2 separate regions of the Homo sapiens genome follow, and region 2 is linked to region 1. The links are contacts of gene promoters, found by promoter capture Hi-C in blood cells and fetal thymus (Javierre and others, 2016). All regions are on one chromosome and are shown on one strand. The core of a region is centred on a gene start or on the middle of the fragment in contact, and the rest is flanking DNA. Distances in the headings are between cores, read along the strand shown. Region 1 holds the start of CPSF1 (cleavage and polyadenylation specific factor 1). Region 2 holds the start of NRBP2 (nuclear receptor binding protein 2).

Evidence for each region. The method cuts DNA at HindIII sites, captures the fragments that hold promoters and counts their contacts. A CHiCAGO score of 5 or more calls a contact.
Region 2: the fragment with the promoter of NRBP2 here is called in contact with the fragment with the promoter of CPSF1 in region 1 in 2 of 17 cell types (M0 macrophages and neutrophils); the score reaches 8.1 in M0 macrophages.

The regions. Positions count from the first base shown.
Region 1 is chr8:144,407,887-144,410,586 of GRCh38, reverse strand. It overlaps CPSF1 (cleavage and polyadenylation specific factor 1), which reads left to right and starts at 1,252. Exons shown (of 38, transcript NM_013291.3): 1 at 1,252-1,298; 2 at 1,415-1,572. The coding sequence starts at 1,429. RefSeq lists a silencer at 786-1,445 and an enhancer at 1,716-1,765. The HindIII fragment of the contact is 8,279 bases long and covers 865-2,700 here.
Region 2 is chr8:143,839,577-143,842,276 of GRCh38, reverse strand. It overlaps NRBP2 (nuclear receptor binding protein 2), which reads left to right and starts at 1,304. Exons shown (of 18, transcript NM_178564.4): 1 at 1,304-1,571; 2 at 2,048-2,170; 3 at 2,247-2,348; 4 at 2,452-2,541. The coding sequence starts at 1,443. RefSeq lists enhancers at 1-686, 687-1,417 and a silencer at 843-1,402. The HindIII fragment of the contact is 4,061 bases long and covers 1-2,700 here.

The sequences.
Region 1 (2,700 bases), core at 3-2,502:
CTCAGTGGGGGGAAACCTTGGACAATTCCCAGGCTTTCTTGGGCAGAGGTCCCTGCGGCTTCCCGCAGTGCATTGTGTCCCTGGTTAATCGAGAATGAAGAATGGCGATAACTTTTACCAAGCATACTGCCTACAAACATATTAACAAGGCACATCCTGCATAGCCCTAAATCCATTAAACTTTGATTCATTACAGCACATGTTTCTGTGAGCACAGGGTTGGGGCTAAAGTTACAGGTTAACAGCATCTCAAAGCAAAAACAATTTTTCTTAGTACAGATCAAAATGGAGTTTCTTATGTCTTCCTTTTCTACATAGACACAGTAACAATCTGATCTCTCTCTCTTTCCCCCACAGTTTTTGTATTTTTAGTAGAGACTGGGTTTCACCATGTTGGCCAGGCTGGTCTCGAACTCCTGACCTCAGGTGATCCGCCCACCTCGGCCTTCCAAAGTGGGATTACAGGCGTGAGCCACCGCCTCCTATTGACTTTTAAAAGGCGGTTGAGTGTGGCTCAGGGGTCACACGCCTGAGCATCCAAGTGGCCCTTCCCCCACTGCCCAATGAGCAAGTAGATTTGGATGCAACAAAAACACATATTTCCACGCCATTTTCTTGGGCGTAACGATACTTTCTTGTTTTATTTCTCATGATTCCGTTTCTAGGTCCTAGGCCCGTGCCTGATCCAGGATCCAAGCTCCCGGAAGCTGGCACTGGGCCCGCCCTGGGTAGGCAGCAGTGAGCAAGGCGGGCGGACAGCGCTGGGCTCGCGGGGTCCTGCGTCCTCCGCGGGAGTGTTGGCGGCGGGGGTCGCTCTGCGCGGGGACACTGGGCAGAGGGGGCGTGCGGCCTCTCTAGGAAGCTTTCTCGGAGCCCCAGACACTGGCGAGGCGCCGCGCCCCCTCTTCTGGATTCCGGCGCGCCCCCTGAACCCGGGAGCTACGAGCGGAGTCGCTTCTCCCTGCAGCCGTCCTGGGTCTGGCGCGGACGCACCCCCCGGCCGACCCCGAGCCGCTGCAGCCGGCGCCCCTGCGGCTTCCAACCCGCGCTGCTCCGCCCGCAGCGGAGGCCCCGCACTTCGCGCGCTAGGGGTTTGGGTTCCGGACGCCCAGCCCGGAGCCGAGCCGCCAGCCGCCCGCATCCCGGGCCACTAGGGCCCGCTGTCGCCCCTGCAGCCACGCTCACGCGGCGGCGCTGCGCAGGCGCAGAAGCCCGGAACCTTCCCGCCCAGCTTCTGGGCCCGGCCGGACTGAGTTCGCTGCTGTCCCGGTTCCTCTCGAGTCGGCTCCAACTGCCAGGTGGGCGGCCGGGCGGGCGGCCGAGGCGGCAGCGCGAGGCCGGGGAGGGGCGCGGTGCGGGGCCGGGCTCCTGCGTGGGCGACCCCGCTCACCCTTCCTCTCCCGGCCTTGCGCAGCCCGGGTTGGCGCCATGTACGCCGTGTACAAACAGGCGCATCCGCCCACCGGTCTGGAGTTCTCCATGTACTGCAACTTCTTCAACAACAGCGAGCGCAACCTGGTAGTGGCCGGGACCTCGCAGCTCTACGTGTACCGCCTCAACCGCGACGCCGAGGTAGGTCGGGCCCTGGGAGCCCTCCCGGCTGTCCGCGACGTGGGTGCTCTCACCGCCCCCGGTTGCAGATGGAAGAGCCAAGCCCCAGACAAGTTGAGTGATTTGCTTAACGTTCCTCAGCCTGAGGAGCCAGGACATGACCCTGAATCTCTTGTGCTCAGATCCTTTCTCACAGCTGCTACCCTGTTCTGCCTCCCTTCCTACCCCACCGGGAAGGGCGCGCTGCCCTAGCCGTCTTGTTTGCTCTTCCGTTTTTTCAGCAAGTTGTTCGGAAGGAGCGAACGCCCACTGTGCGCTGGGTAGCAGAGATACCATGTGAACCACACCTGCAGACACTTGGGGAAGGGGAACATCTAAATAAACACACCTGCCCCTGCAGCAAGTGCTGCTGCGGGAATAAAGGAGTGAAGGAAGGAGACTGTGTATTTCCAGTCGCATGATCAGAAGAGCCTGTCTGAGGCAGAGCGGGAGTTTGTCGGGGGAAGGACATTGGTAGCACAAGGAACAAGGCCAGGTCTAGGATGGGGACAGACTGTTGACAGGAGTCTTGGTACAGTGGGGCACACGCCTCAAGGGTTTGGGAAATACAGTGGTGTTTTGGTTGCCGGAGGGTTGAAAGCTGGTCCAGGAAAGCAACTTGCAAGAGGCAGTTTCTCCATTGCTCTTGAAGGGAGGAGTACCTCTTACCCAGGCCCAGGGATGGTGAGAGGAGGGTGTTCCAGGCAGAAGAAACAGCCTGTGCACAGGCCCAAAGCAGTTGAGGGTGGAGAGACATGCACAGTGTGGCCGTGGTATAGACTGGATGTGGTGGTGGGGATGGAGGGAGGTAGGCCGTGGTCAGGACTATTCTCCACAAAGCAGGGAGGAGCCACAAGAGGGTTGTGAATAGGGGCTGACCCAGCAGGCAGATGGGTCAGAAGCTCAGGCCAAAGGAGGCCAACCCTCCTGGGCACCTACCCCGGCATACATATGTATTTGCTGGCCAGGGCTCCTGTCCTCTGAAGGCTTGACGAGGGCTGGAGTTTCTGCTCCTAACACACTATTGGCAGGAGGCCGCAGTTCCTCACCACATGGGCCCCTCCCTGGGGCAGCTCACAACATGGCAGCCTCCCTCACAATGAGACACCC
Region 2 (2,700 bases), core at 55-2,554, 570 kb after region 1:
TCAGGGCCAGTTTCAGGGTGGAGGATTTGAACACCCCAAACCTTTACTGCAGAGGGCCTCAGCAGGATCACCTGGCATTGGTGGAAACCACACACAAGGTGCCTGGTGACCAAGGCTGGTCAGAAAAGAGAGACCACAGGGGACGCAGCAGGGCCAGATGCACCTCTGCCAAAGAAAGAAAGAGGCGTCCCAAAGGGCCAGTGCATGGAGCTGCGCGGAGGGGAGGAGCGGAGTTCCAATTTGGGCTCCAGAGAGAGAAGGTAAAGGATGAGGACCCGCCGTGAAGGAGGGAGGAGACCACAGGAAGGCCGTGGGGGCTGTGGGCTGAAGGGGGTTTTAGGTGAGAATCGGGGACAGCCCCGGTGGTCGGCGTGGCTGGAGGGTGTGCTTAGAGCGGCCTCCGGAGGGAGAGGTCGTGTGAGCCGGGTGGGCTCCCCCCTCATGGTTCCACTGTCCCATGGGAGCCAGCCGCGGAAAGGAAATGCGCGTTTGAGGAGAAAAGAGAAAATCGCCATCCTGGAAAGTGAGAAGATGGGCTTGTGGGCGGGAGGAGGCACTGGTGGGCGGGCCAGGGAGAGATTCGTGGTCACCGATCAAAGTCAGCCTGGGTCAGCCTGCTGGTGGGCCTTTCCCCCGCCCTCGGTGCCCCTTCGACCTGTCCCTTGGGGGTCGGCCGGGGAATGAGTGCGTGGCCAGGAGAGCGGGTCCCGCTTTCGAGCCCGCGGGGTCTTCTGCAGCTGGAGGGTGCCGTGGGCTTGGGGGCCCCCAGATGCCCCGGGTCTTCCCCCAGATCCTAGGGGAGCAACCGCGAGAGAAGTGGGCGCTCCGGGCTCCAGGTGTCCGCAGGGCGGGGCCTCCGAGGGGGCGGGGATTTGGGGGCGGTTCCTCTGCGCGGGGCGGGGCCTCATAGGGGCGGGGCTTCGAGGAGGTGAGGCGGGGCCTGGGGTGGGGCTTCGCGGAGGACCCTGGGAACGGGCGGGGGCGGGGACTAAAACGGGGCGGGGATTCGCGGGGGTGGGGCGGGTCCTGGGGCGGGGCTTCGCGAAGGAGGCTTGGAGGACGAGGAGGGGACAGGGCCTGGGGAGGGGCTTCGCGGAGCAGGCCTGGGAGACGAGGAGGAAACAGGGACTGGGGCGGGGCTTCGCGGGGCGGGGCCTCCGGGGGGGCGGGGCCTGGGCGCGGCCCGGGCTCGGCAGCTCTCGGGGAAGCTCTGCTCTGGCTCCGGCAGGCACAGGCGGCTCGGGAGGTGCGCGCCGGCTCCGCCCCCGGGCCCCGCCCGTCCGCCGCGCGCCCGCGCCTCCCAATTCCCAGAGCCGGGGCTGGGGCTCTAGGCTGCCGCGGCGGCTCTAGGCTGGGCTGCTGGGCGCGAGGCCAGGGCGGGCCGGGAGAGGCTGCGCCGGCGGCGGATCGCGCAGAGGGCGGTGGCCTGGGCTGGCCGAACCATGGCGGCCCCGGAGCCGGCGCCGAGGCGGGCCCGGGAACGGGAGCGGGAGCGGGAGGACGAGAGCGAGGACGAGAGCGACATCCTGGAGGAAAGCCCGTGTGGTCGCTGGCAAAAGCGACGGGAGCAGGTGGGCGCGGGGGTTGGGGCACGGGGTGACACCGCCCTCCCAGAGCGGGAGGGGCCTGGAGGCTGCGCGGGGCGTGGGGGCGCTGGGAGAGCGCGGCGGCTGGAAACCTCTCCGCGGCCCCTCGCGGCCCGCGAATCAGCCACCCCTGGACCCCTTTGGCCTGGCGCTCGCCCTGGGACTCCCTGAGGGCCAGTCTCCTCCCAGGACCACCTCCCCATGCCTCTGGACTCAGCCGCTAGCTTCCTGGGGATCCCCCTCGACCCCCTGAAACCTGCTCCAAATCCCCTTAGCCCAGCCCTTGGATAGGAGCCCTTGGCTCCTGGGGGCAGCTACCCTCCAAGCCCCACCTTCCCGCAGAGTGGCTCAGGGCCTGCAGCCCACGCTTGGGCCCACTGGAAAGGTGTGGACAGGGACCAAATCCTCACCCACAACCCTGACACACACCAGGGCACACATAACCCTTTATTCACCCCCAGGTAAACCAAGGGAACATGCCAGGGCTTCAGAGCACCTTCCTAGCCATGGACACGGAGGAGGGGGTAGAGGTGGTGTGGAACGAGCTCCACTTCGGAGACAGGAAGGCCTTCGCGGCGCACGAGGTGAGACCGCTGCCCCCTCCTCATCCTGCTTGGGTGACCACCTGCTGACCACCCAGCGACCACCCTCCCTCCCCAGGAGAAGATCCAGACCGTGTTCGAGCAGCTGGTGCTGGTGGACCACCCGAACATCGTGAAGTTGCACAAGTACTGGCTGGATACCTCTGAGGCCTGCGCGAGGGTGAGCACGGGCAAGGCCCCGGGCAGGCAGAGACCACAGCTAGGTGGGGCGGGCATGGGGACGAACCCGCAGCTGGTGGAAATCCTGAGCTCGCACCGTGCAGGTCATCTTCATCACAGAGTACGTGTCATCAGGCAGCCTCAAGCAATTCCTCAAAAAGACCAAGAAGAACCACAAGGCCATGAACGCCCGGGTATGGGGAGCGGGCTGGGGCAGCCACGGGGACAGGACGGGGTTGGGGCAGCCTCGGGGACTGGGATGGTGAGGGGGTGCCCGGCGGCCTCGGACAGGGGCTGGGCGAGGATGCGGGGCGGGCTCCGCAGGCCCAGCCGCCTCTCCTGCGCCCACCCGA